4 separate regions of the Homo sapiens genome follow, and all the other regions are linked to region 1. Evidence: promoter capture Hi-C in 16 types of primary human blood cells and fetal thymus (Javierre and others, 2016). All regions are on one chromosome and are shown on one strand. The core of a region is centred on a gene start or on the middle of the fragment in contact, and the rest is flanking DNA. Distances in the headings are between cores, read along the strand shown.

What was found. Contacts are between HindIII fragments. The CHiCAGO score rates a contact against its expected background, and 5 or more counts as called.
Region 2: a fragment that was not itself captured here is called in contact with the fragment with the promoter of LINC03102 in region 1 in 1 of 17 cell types (activated CD4 T cells); the score reaches 5.7 in activated CD4 T cells.
Region 3: a fragment that was not itself captured here is called in contact with the fragment with the promoter of LINC03102 in region 1 in 1 of 17 cell types (activated CD4 T cells); the score reaches 5.8 in activated CD4 T cells.
Region 4: a contact is called between a fragment that was not itself captured here and the fragment with the promoter of LINC03102 in region 1, in 1 of 17 cell types (naive CD8 T cells). The highest score is 5.4, in naive CD8 T cells.

What each region holds. Positions count from the first base shown.
Region 1 is chr1:70,358,756-70,361,952 of GRCh38, forward strand. LINC03102 (long intergenic non-protein coding RNA 3102) reads right to left here and starts at 1,682. Exons shown (of 2, transcript NR_183713.1): 1 at 1,542-1,682; 2 at 804-1,240. All of the region lies in intron 1 of ANKRD13C-DT (ANKRD13C divergent transcript), which reads left to right. RefSeq lists an enhancer at 318-377 and a silencer at 1,614-1,807. The HindIII fragment of the contact is 2,416 bases long and covers 206-2,621 here.
Region 2 is chr1:70,171,911-70,175,107 of GRCh38, forward strand. LRRC40 (leucine rich repeat containing 40) reads right to left here. Exons shown (of 15, transcript NM_017768.5): 8 at 1,712-1,799; 9 at 1,555-1,600. Among named protein-coding and RNA genes, the nearest start is that of LRRC40, 32 kb to the right of the region's middle. The HindIII fragment of the contact is 4,336 bases long and covers 1-3,197 here.
Region 3 is chr1:70,193,641-70,196,837 of GRCh38, forward strand. All of the region lies in intron 1 of LRRC40 (leucine rich repeat containing 40), which reads right to left. Among named protein-coding and RNA genes, the nearest start is that of LRRC40, 10 kb to the right of the region's middle. The HindIII fragment of the contact is 1,448 bases long and covers 1,050-2,497 here.
Region 4 is chr1:70,494,849-70,498,045 of GRCh38, forward strand. No RefSeq gene overlaps it. Among named protein-coding and RNA genes, the nearest start is that of CTH, 85 kb to the left of the region's middle. The HindIII fragment of the contact is 6,948 bases long and covers 1-3,197 here.

The DNA.
Region 1 (3,197 bases), core at 432-2,931:
ACTGCACTTGGCCCCATCCATTATTTTTAAGGGCTTGTAAAAATGACAGAAATGTAAGATTACAATATATTATAAAAAAGATAGAAATATGATTGTAATACATTATGAAAAATACAAGGATTGAAATTATATAAGCTCCCAATACAATATAGAAAAGGAAGTCATTAATTCTATTTGGGGAAAATAGAAATTGGATGATCAGAAAAGCTTTCTGGGGCTGGGCGTGGTAGCTCATGCCTGTAATCCCAGCACTTTGGAAGGCCGAGGTGGGCAAGTCACTTGAGGTCAGGAGTTCAAGATCAGCCTGACCAACATGGTGAAACCCCATTTCTACTGAAAAATACAAAAAGAATCAGCCAGGCATGGTGACGTCTGCTTGTAGTCCCAGCTGCTCGGGAGGCTGAGGCAGGAGAATGGCTTGAACCCAGGAGGCAAAGGTTGCAGTGAGATTGCACCACTGCACACCAGCCTGGGCGATAGAGCGAGACTCTGTCTAAAAAAATAAATAAATAAATAAAAGAATTACATCAAATTTTATCCCTTCTTAGCACAAATTTTTTTTTAACTTGGCATAGAATTCAGAGCCAGGAAATTGTGTTGAACTAACTTTCCAAATAAAATTTAGCATGTCATTCTATTATGAACGTATGCCACAAACCACAATAGTATTAGCATTAGTAGTACCTGTGACTTCACAACCAAAAAAACCACAGGTATTTTCATTTCACATAACAGTTGCTGCAGACAACTCAAAATTTCATTTATAGTCATTAGTACCTCTAAAATTATCTTAATAGGTATGCTCATTGCTATATCTTGTTCTTTAATTAGTTAATAAAGAAGCATATACATTACTGTATTACAAATTTGCTTTTAAAATATTTTGTTAGGTATTTCAATACTCAGAGTTTCCTTTTAATCCAAAATATTTTATGCATTTAAAAACACTGTTCTGAAAATGGGTCCCTGGGTTTCTCCACACTGCCAAAGAGTCAATGGCACAAAAACAGAAGTTAGGAACTTCTTCTTAGGAATCTTTGATGATACCTGCCCATTCGTCTCCTTTTCTCTCCTATCCAACAAACCCATCGTTCTGAATTAGGTGTCCCTCCTTTGTCTTCTTTTTGATTTCCCATTGTAACTTCTGCATGCCTCCTTGATATTCTTGTCTGGTCTCAACTAATCCTTGGAGCTCTCTGAGCACTGGAATCATGCTGATCATTGCTGTATGCACAGTGCCCTACAGGGAGTGAATGCTTATATTAATAATAAGCAGTTGTTGAATTAATCAGTCTATTAGAACACAAAACCCCAAGTATCTACAAGGTACTAAGACAACTGCAGACTCAGTAATGAGATGCTAAATAAACTTCTTAAATAATCCCAATATAACTACACTGAAATTAGCTGCTACACTCTTGAATTCTTACATGAAGCCAAAGAGTAGATATATCATTTAGGACTTTTTGTTTTTCATGTAGAAGTAACAATAAATTCAATTGAAACAGGGTTAAATTAAAGGAATGTATTGACTTACATACCAGAAAGGTGCAGAGATAAGTCTTCAAGAGTGGCCCCTCAGGATCCCATGTCAGTTTTTCAGTGAATCTCTCGGTGTTTCTCTCTGTATGAGGAGTCCTCCTCAGGCCTGCTTCCTTCAAGAACACAAGATAACTGCCAGCAGGTAAAAGCAGCCACGTGCTTCCTCCTTAAGGTCCAAAGGAGTTCCTGCTCCCACATAAATCTGGAGTATGACAGTTACAAGATAACTCAGTCCAATCTGTGTCCCAGAGAACGGTGATTGGCTCAAGCCTGGGTTATCTGACAAACCCCTGTGAAGGAGGGGTTACTCAGATTAGTTTCACCCAATCAGGATTGATCTCGGAGCCGGAGGTGGGGCCCAGCTCTCCAAACAGTGAACTGTTTCATAATGGGAATGAGGTGGGGAATAATGTTGGAGAGACAAATGCAAGAGTGGTCAGCAAAAGTACTATATCCAAAGACTTAAAACAGGATTTTGCTTCAAAAAAATCTGTTATCACAGTGTCTTGAATTCAATATGATAAAATATGTAGTGATTATCAATTATATCAATATGTAATGAGTAAATAACTTCACTGGTAAACACTGTATTTACTTTTTATTCAAATTTTACAAGATAGAATGCAATCCATCAATTCAAGTATAGAACTAAACTACTGGCCAGGCGCAGTGGCTCACGCCTGTAATCCCAGCACTTTGGGAGGCTGAGGCGGGTGGATCACCTGAGGCCAGGAGTTCGAGACCAGCCTGGCCAACATGGCGAAACCCCGTCTCTACTAAAAATACAAAAATTAGCCGGACGTGGTGGTGGACCCCTATAATCCAAGCTACCTGGGAGGCTGAGGCAGGAGAATCGCTTGAACCTGGGAGGCAGAGGTTGCAGTGAGCCGAGATTGTGCCATTGCACTCCTGCCTGGGCAACAGAGCTAGACTCCATGCCAAAAGGAAAAAAAAAAAAACCCTGAGAACTAAACTACTGAATTTGCTAGGTAATACTCTGTAGTTCTACAAATTAGCAAATTAATTTCTCTCCTGGTGTAGTTAACTCAATAATGCTCAATTTGCCTTGAATAGCAAAAAGCTTCTGAAAAATGAATGTTTTTCAACTTTTTCTAATGAGAGTTTTGTTAGATAGTTATGTGCTCACCAACACCAAACACTGACTAGACAGTTAAATCTGTCTCTAAGAAAGAACGTTGTGAATTTTGCCAGAAATTTATGTATCTCTATTAGCCCTACACAAAGCACCTAATCCCTGTCCTGGTGTCTTCATTTAACAAAAGCAGTAGTATGGTAACATGAAATACAGAACAGCAGTACTGTACAAAATAAAATCTCACTCGTTATATTTTTTAAATATATCAACAGACTTCCAATTAGGATCTGTAGTTACTAACCTTACTCAATTCTCATTGCATTGCATACTAATAATGTTTCTAATGTAAATATTAGTGCAAGTTTAGTCTACATCTTTTTTCTTTCATCTTCTCTGAAGATTTGTGTTTTATATTCTCACAATAATCTGGAATATGATTTCCTACATTCCACAATGGTTGAACAAGATCTAGGAGTATTTTGTTTGATAGATGATAGGGCTATCTAACTAATGAGGTAATTGTCTCTGAAATCTGACGACACAGCAGTACACTGACAGA
Region 2 (3,197 bases), core at 303-2,802, 190 kb before region 1:
AGCATTATCTGTAATAGCCAAAAGGTCTTTCTGATCTACTAACTCAGTCACCATTTGTTCACTTATGCTATGGCCTAAATGTATGTGTTACCCCAAATTTCCTATGTTGAAATCTAACCACCAAGGTAACAGTATTAAGAGGTAGGGCCTTTGTAAAGTAACTAGATATTGAGGGCAGAACCCTCATGAACGGGAATAGTGCCCTTATAAAAGAAGTCTTGGGGGCTCATTAACCTCCTCTTGCCATCTGAAAGCATGGAGAAGGTGCCATCTATGAGAAACAGGTCCTTACCAGACACCAAATCTGCTGGTGCTTTGATCACAGTTCTCTAGAACCATGAGCAATAAATTTCTGTTATTTATAAATTACAGTCTAAGATATTTTATTATAGTAGCCCAAACTGACTAAACAACTCACTTTCCAATGTCCACATGTTTATTATTTTATTTTTCCCCCATTCTCCCTATCTTTATGGAAGTACACCTTTAAAACATTTCCATTACCAATTTTCTTTTTGTGGGGTTTCTGGAAAGAATAAAATTATATGCATGGATTCACTCTCCCATCTTTGGATAGAAGCTGTCTAGCAGAAATGTTTGCATATAACTGTAACTTCCACTAAGTTCATCTTGGCTTTCTGTTCATAAAATTTTGATCAGTCTGACATGACCTCTAACTGATTCATGACAGAATAATCAATTTGTTCTGGAAGAGAAAGCATATTTGGAGAAGGAAACACTTTCCTTGGTAGAAAATAAGAGTCTTAGAAAATTATTTTAATAATTCACTTGAAGGATAAAGTAGAAAAAATAGCTAAACTACACAATTATCTTACTCATTTAATATATGTTGACTGGCAACATAGTGCTAAGCTAAGCTATGCATAACCAACAGAGTTGTGAGGTAAATTAACAGCTACTGCATTTAGCCATTATGTTTTGGAGTGGTTTGTTTCTTAGCATAGCACTCGTACAACTACTTTTTTTTTTCAAAATGTTTTAGTTTATTCTATAATGATAGACATGAAACAAAAATTGGGTATATGACATGTTTAGTGAATTATTAAAAATTAAGTTTATTGTATTATTTTCACTTTTGGTACATGTTCTTGCTAAATTAACATACCCTGAAAAGTATGTTTTGTCTTAAATTTTGTCAGAGTTTAGCAAAGCTGTGCACGAAAAATAGATAATGAAATACTTGTCAATATACTTTCTAGTCAATAGAACCCATATATCCTGAAAGTCAAGTTTTACTCCTTTTTCAAAGTTGAAGTACTAAGTGCTTACTGAATCTTTTTTGTTAAATTTCCTAATTGGCAGACTTAACACAATTCAAAGGGATTACAGATAGTACATTATTATTGTGAGTTTAAAGATATTTTTATAACCTCAGCATACTTACAGACTATATGGATTTAGAATTAGAGCCACACATGCCAGGATCTATTACTTCCAAATATGTATACCCAAAAGACATTTAAATTTATGTACTATTAATTCTTCACCACTTTTTATGAATCCTTCAAAATATAAGAGAACATTTTAAAGTACCTTTGATCTTGCTTCGTAGATATTTTAGGACTTCTTGTGTTCCTTTCTAGAAGGGTGGAGACAAAGACATTCACCAAGACATGCTTTGCAGTTTTACAGATCAACATATATGTCTGAATTTCAATTTAACAAAGAGCTGAATTCCAAATATACTTACACTTATAATTTCTCTTCGAATTGTTCTCAAAGGATTTCCTTCTAATGCCAAAAATTTCAAATGAAGGTTCCCCAATGAATAGGGAAGACTATAAAAGATTAAATTGATTTCAGGGAAAGCATCAAATATAAGTATACTCCAACCATAGTTAACTATAAAACATCATATGGCAAACAACATATCACAGAATAGTCTCAAAGAAAGGCCAAGTAATGCAGACCTAAAACATTTCCTTTCAAGATAAATGCTAAACATATAAAGGAAAAATCAGATTTGTTTTCAAAATTGTCATGCTGAGATTAATTTTAAAAAAGTGAGCTATAAAACATTTGTTAAATTATAACATTTGCTAAAAAAGTAAATGTTAAACATAAATTTGAATGAATCAGTGATTCAAGATAGACATCCTCACTGATACCAAATGTTTTGATTTTGCACTTAGAGCAAGGAAACAAAATTCTAATTGAAAAAAGATGACAAATAGAAAAAGATAATTTTTGAATGTCCAATTCATGTTTCCATTCAATAAAGAAAGTCATCTTCATCTCTGGCACATTTTAAAAACCATTCATACATAAAAATTCAATATCAATAAAATCTATTAAGCATCTACAAAATATAGGGCACTGGTATAGCGATATCAAGATTCTTGTTCTCAAGTCCTCAGTTAAACAAAGGAAAAAAACACATACAGCTAACTAAAATATAATAAGTATTATCTTACAATGCTGGTGGGAATATAAAATAGTACAGTCACTTTCGAAAGTGGAGTCTTTTAAACATATGGTCACTATACAACTAAGCAAACACACTGCTACACGTTTACTCAGGAGAAATGAAAATAATGTCCACACAGAAACTTGCACACAGATGTTTACAATAGCAAAAAATCAAAAACAACTCAAATGTCCATCAACTAACTACTGAAAAGACACATGAACTGCGGTATATCTATCTCTGTACAACAGAATAACACTCAGCAATAAAAATAAAACTACTGATACATACAACCACATGAATCACAAAAACTTTATGTTACATGAAAGAAGCCAGACACAAAAACTACATTCTATGTAATTCCATTTATGTGACATTCTAAAAAGGACAAAACTATAGTAACATAGCACATTAGTGGTTGCCAGGGGTTGGGGTATGGAAAGGGAATTGACTGCAAAAGGTATGAGGAAACTTTTTAGGGAGATAGAAATGTTCTACATGGCTGTGATTACGGTTACACAAATATATACCTTTGCCAAAAATCATCAAGTTGTATGCTTGATTGGTAAATTTTATTGTATATAAGTTACATATTAACAAATGAATATGATATAAAAAGCATATATAATAAGACAAATGCTAAACAAGTCATGTTGCTATGAGAGTAGAAATATAGACACTGGTGGGGCTTTACAGGGGAGAAGGGAGTAGCAAAAACCGGATTTGGGCTTAAAGTGAAAAATCAAATACTATTAGGCAAAAAAAAAGC
Region 3 (3,197 bases), core at 524-3,023, 170 kb before region 1:
TAAATACATTAAAAGAGAAAATAAAACAAAAACTACAGGCCAATGTATCTAATGATTATAGACCCAAATTCCTGAACAAATTTTGCAACTCTATATAAAAAGGATAACATATCATGATCCAGTGCGAGTTATCTTAGGACTGCAAGGCTGGTTTAACATTTGAAAATTAATCAATAAAAGCTACCATATTAACAGAAAAATGAGAAATACTATGTGATTGTTGAGATACAAAAAAAGCATCTGACAAAATTCAACAATAAAAACTCAGAAAACTAGGAATCAAAGGGAACTCCTTCAACCTTACAAAGGGCATCTGTGAAAAACCTAAAACTAACACCATACTTAATGGTGGAAGACGCAGTGCTTTCTCTTTAAAAGAGTATACAAGGCAAGGATGCCCATTCTCACTACTTTAATATTTTAATAGAGGTCTTGACCAATGCAGTAAGACAAAAAGAAGAAAAAGAAATAAATAAAAGAAACAAAAGGCATTCAGATTGGACAAGAAGTAAAACTGTCCCAATTAACAGACACTATGATCATCTATGTACAAAGTGCTAAGGAATCTACAAAAAAATTATATGCAATCAATGAGTTTAGAACAGTCACAAAATTCAAGCTCAATATAGAAAAATCAACTATGTTTCTATGTATTAGCAATCAAATAAAAAAATGTTTAAATGTTAAAAGATTTACAATACAAGACATCCGAAACCATGAAATAGTATTAAATGTACAAAATATGTACAAGATCTGTATATGAAAATACAAAACATTGCTGTGAAAACTTGAAGGTCTAGATAATAAAGAAATGTAACATAAGACAGCTTGGAAGACTCCATATTACAAAGATGTCGCTTCTCCCCAAGTGACTTATAGATTCAGCACAATCCTAATAAAAATCCCAGAAAGCTTTTCTGTAGAAATTAACAAGCCAATTCTAAAATGTGTATTGAAATGCAAAAGAACTAAATTAGGTCAAAAAATTTTGAAATAAAAGAACAAAACAGGAGGCTTTATTCAGCACAATCCTAATAAAAATCCCAGAAAGCTTTTCTGTAGAAATTAACAAGCCAATTCTAAAATGTGTATTGAAATGCAAAAGAACTAAATTAGGTCAAACAATTTTGAAATAAAAGAACAAAACAGGAGGCTTTATAGTATTTGATTCCAAGTCTGACCATGAAGCTACATTTGTCAAGATAGTGTAGTATTAGCATAAGGATAAACACATAGGTCAATGGAAAAAGAGTTCAGAAAAAATTCCATACAATAAAATATTGAAAATTGATTTTCAACAAAGGTGCCAATATAATTTAATAAAAAAGGAATCATGTTTTCAACAAATGGTACTGGAATAACTATAAAATAAACTATAAAAATGAACCTCAACCTTTACCTTGTGACACACTCAAAAATTAACTCCAAATGGACCACGGACTTATATGTAAATGATGAAACTAAAAAATTCTAAAAGAAACAGAGGAAAAAATTTTCACAGCCTTCAGATGGGCAAAAAATGTCTTGGGACAGAAAAAGTTCATCATAAAAGAAAAACAATTGATAAACTAGATTTCATAAAAATTTATAACTTACATGTTTCTAAAGCTACCATTAATAAAATAAGCTAAACTGGGAGAAAATATTAGACAGATACTGATATAGATATCTGAGACGGAATTGTATCTCAAATATATACAAAGTCGTTACCCAAGAATAAAAACCCATTTAAAAAAAAAAAAAGACAAAAGTTGGAACAAACACTTAACAGAAGATATATAAATGGCTAAAAGGCAGTAGAAAAGATGCTAAACATCATTAGTTTTAAAGGACATGCAAATTAAAACCACAAAAAAATATGCCAACACAGCCACAAGAATAGTTAATATTTAAAAGACTGAATACAAAGTGCTGGTAATGAGGTGGAGGAACTGAATCTCTCATATGTTGCTAGTGGGAAACAGTTTGGTGAATTCTTATAATGTTAAATAAATACTTTTTGGGTTTTTTTGAGACAGGGTCTCACTTTCTCACCCAAGCTGGAGAGCAGTGGCGCAGTCCTGGCTCACTGCAACCTCCGCCTCCCGGGTTCAAGGGATTCTCTGCCTCAGCCTCCCGAGCAGCAGCTGGACTTACAGGCATGTGCCACCATGCCTGGCTAATTTTTGTATTTTTAGTAGAGGCGGGGTTTCGCCATGTTGGCCAGGCTGGTCTCGAACTCCTGGCCTCAAGTGATCCACCTGCCTCGGCCTCCCAAAGTGCTGGGAGTACAGGCGTGAGCCACCACGCCAGGACCTATACTTACTACTATACAATACAGCAATTCCATTGTCAGGTATGGATTCAACAGAAATGGTATGTCTACACAAAGACTTGTACATGAGGCACAGAGATCCATCATCTTATCTCACCACTGTCCAAGACACAGACACACCTTCCATTTGTAAGACCTACGAAATGTTTCTTTCTAAGAAAAAAAAAAAAGACTATACAAGAAAGCTTATAGCAATTTTATTCATAACAGCCAAAAACTGGAAACCACTCAAATGTCCATCAACAGACTAATGGATAAATAAATTGAATTGTATACACAAATGGACTATTATTCAGCAATTTAAAAAACTGCTGGCTGGGCGTGGTGGCTCATGCCCATAATTGCAGCACTTTGGGAGACCATAGCAGGAGGATCATTTGAGCCCAGAAGTTTGAGACCAACCTGGGAAAAAGAGCAAGACTTCGTCTCTATTAAAAACAAAAAAATTAGCCAGGCATGGTGGCATACACCATGAGTCCCAGATACTTGGGAAACTGAAGCAGAAGGATCACTTGAGACCAGAAGTTTGAAGTTGCAGTGAGCTATGACTGTGCCACTGCATGCTAGCCTGGGCAACAGAGGGAGACACTGTCTCAAGAAAGAAAAAAAAAGAACAACTGATGTAAACAACATGGATGAACCTCAAAAACATGATTCTAAACAAAAGAAGCCCTAAGCGAAAAAAAAAATTGCAAATGTATTATTTCATTTACATGCAATTTTAAAAGAACTAAAATTAATCTACATTGACAAAAAGCAGATCCGTAGTTATGTGGAGCCAATAGCAGGATTGACAGCAAAGGGGCACAAGTAAACTTTTCAAGATGTTGGAAATGTTCTATATCTTGATTGTAGTACTGGTTACATGATGGTATATATTTGT
Region 4 (3,197 bases), core at 298-2,797, 140 kb after region 1:
GACTGTAGAAAGAAGGAAGGAATAATAGAGAAACTTCACCCACTTCTTTGATAAGTAGGACCAGACTCCATGAGCCATTGATTACTTCTTGTGTCAGACTGGCACATATCAAGGAATTGAGTTTAGGGCCCAGCTGTGACCCCTGCAGGAAAATTTTTATTTGTACTTGGAAAATTATTTGTTTTTTATGTTTATTTGCTTTTAAGTACAGTTGTCCCTTGATATATGCAGGGGATTTGTTCCAGGCCCCCATCCATACCAAAATCCTTGCATACTCAAGCCCCACAGTGGGTCCTGCAGAACCTGAGTATATACAAACAGTTGGCCCTCCATATAGGTAGCTTTTGCATTTCTTTAATACTGGATTTTCAATCTAAGTTTGGTTGAAAAATCTCAGTATAAGTGGACATACACAGTCCAAATCTGTGTTGTTGAAGAGTCAACTGTTTAATGAAATTGATATGGTATAACTTTAGGGACTTTGATTCTCAACTACTCTAATGATACAAACTAGGTAATTTAACTCTGTGCACCTGCATTCAAGCTAATTCTTGGCTCTAAACTGTGGAATATAGGAGCACATGTTCTCAGGATCTCCCGAGGGCTGTGTCACAGAAATTTATATATATATAAAACAAGAAAGCTGGCACCTGAGTACGATAATTAAATTGGCAGAGATATTGAAATATGATCCCTGGAGGTTATTGATTATATGGCTCCCAGTAGTCTAATCTTTGGAGTTAAATCAACACATCCTGGTTTTAATGTAGGCCATGAATTGGAGCCTGCTTCTGCTTCATGACACTTAGAACAATGATTCTAAATATCTTTCAAGTTCACAAAGCTAGAATTTTTGAATTTTTTAATGCTAGATTTCTGTGGCATACTTAATGGAATTAATTTACCTCCATTCACAAATGATTGCTCTCTTTTGATTTGCTCTAATCTTGCATTGCTGTTTGATTAGAATGCTCATTTCCCTTATCTGGCTCACTTATATATGCAAGAGGCAAATTACTTCATGTTTCAATAAATAAATAATTATATTTTGGTCTCAGTTTGGGGTTAAGTTGTGTCTGTGTTACTCTTTTGTAAGCTGGATATTTCCTTATACCATTTTTATGGCCTATTTAGCTCAGAGTTTTGGCTCATAGATATTGCTGTAATATAGAGCTCTTCAGTTGTAGTGAAAGTGAAGTTTACACATTAAATAAAATAAGAAACTTTAAGATTTGTGCTACTTTGGCATGTAAAGTCTCACTTATAAACACATTATCTCATTTGTCAGGTGTTCATTGGCCAAATCAAATGTTTTCATTTGGGGCACTTGAAAGGATAGTATAATGCAGTTTCCCACCTCAAAATATTTTTTTATGTAATAAAGGAGATAAGAAAGTTAGCAAAATGAACGTGCTATAAAGGATGGTAAATGAGTCACAAGAATTCATAGGAGAGCAATTTCACTCTTGGGTAGTATCAGGCAGGTGGCTAGGCCCCTGCCACAGTTGGAGACCTTGAGCACCTTTCCCCATGGCTGGCCTTTACTCACACCAAGGGCTAGATGCCTTTGTACAGGGCACAACCTGCACAACTGTACCCTATAGTCTTGGCTTTGGGTAAGTATGACTTTATGTAAACAGCAGTTTTGAGCTGAGCAAAAGGGCTATAAAAACTATCCCTCCTTTTAGTAATCCAGATGGTGTGTTTATGATACGAAAGAGTAACACTTCAAGCATAGAAAAGACATTATTTACATTTTAGAAAATTAAAAATACTTTTGATAAAAGAACATTTTTAAGTAAGAGAAAATTAATGTGTTATTTTGTAAAAAGATGATAAGAGATCAAATTGCAGAGGTAGGATTAGTTCCATCTGATTCACAGAAACAACACTGCAATCAAATTCCCATTCGATAGCCACCACTGCTGCCAAAGCAAAGAGAAAACTTTTTCAGCTACCACTATATGAAAGGCTTTGAGAGATGTTCAGATTAAAGTAGTATATATTTGAGGACTCAAATATTAGTTAGGAATCTTTCAGATAACAGTTCTGAAATTGTAATTAAATTTGATTAGCACAGAGGAATTTGTCCTAATGAAAATGAAGTGTCTAGTGGGACCCATGGATAGAAATGCAGGTGCTACTCTGGAATAAATAGAAGGGACTTAAATATCCCAAAGTTATATCATCATCTCTCATCTCTGCTCACCTCTGTATATTTATTTTGTTCTCTTTTTGTTTCTAGTTCTCTGATCTAAAGACAAAAAAAAAATCCCCCTTTTCCTCTCCAACATCTCCTAAAATTTACTTATTACTGTGTCTGCCACTGGAGAGAAATTGGCTTTTATTCTCAGCTCCAGTTTCACAAATTACATGAAAAGGTCTGCTTGGTTCAGCAGGAGTCCGGCGTCTATCTCTGTGTAAGTAATTATAACCTAAGGGACAGTCATAGCATGTTAATGCAGTGATGTGGTGACAATGTGTAACAGTTGGCTCTTGGGGTGAGGAGAGAGGAGGTGCACCAATTTGCTAATTTGAGGTGTAAATATTCTCACGATGGCTGATTTCAAGAGACCAGTATGATATCACTGAATGTGGAGTTGGAAGAGGTGCTAACAATCAACTTTTGTAAGATAATATGAGGCAGCTCTGATAATGGCTGCTCCTGTAGTAACCATGTGGATGAGAGATCATTTCTTATGAAAGCAGGATACTTTGGGCAAAGAAATCAATGTGTCTAGCACAGCCTACGTGGTATAATAAATACTATAATTTCCCCTTCATGTGTTTTTACTCATTTTTAAAACTTAAGGTAATAGCATAATATATGACACAATATTGTTTTAGCTTACTGAATAGACATGTTAACTCTAAAGTTACTTTGAGATTTAATGCCACATGTGAAAATTGTGAGTTCGATATTTCCTGTTGAATTAAATTGATAAATTAACTCATGAGACTTGAATTATATGTGAAATAAGATGGAGAAAAATGTGTGTGTGTGTGTTTTTTTAATTACAGGAGTGATTGGAGTGGCACATAACATGGCAGAGCTGTTTCCCAAGAGAAAAATATCAGAACGAGTTCAAGACAGATGATGTTTCTCAGGCTGTTTGTTACAGGCTACAGGAAAGGACGTGTGTGGGAAACTCGGCTTTGGAAAGGCAAGTGAAGTATGAGGGGCAGAACTAGTGAGT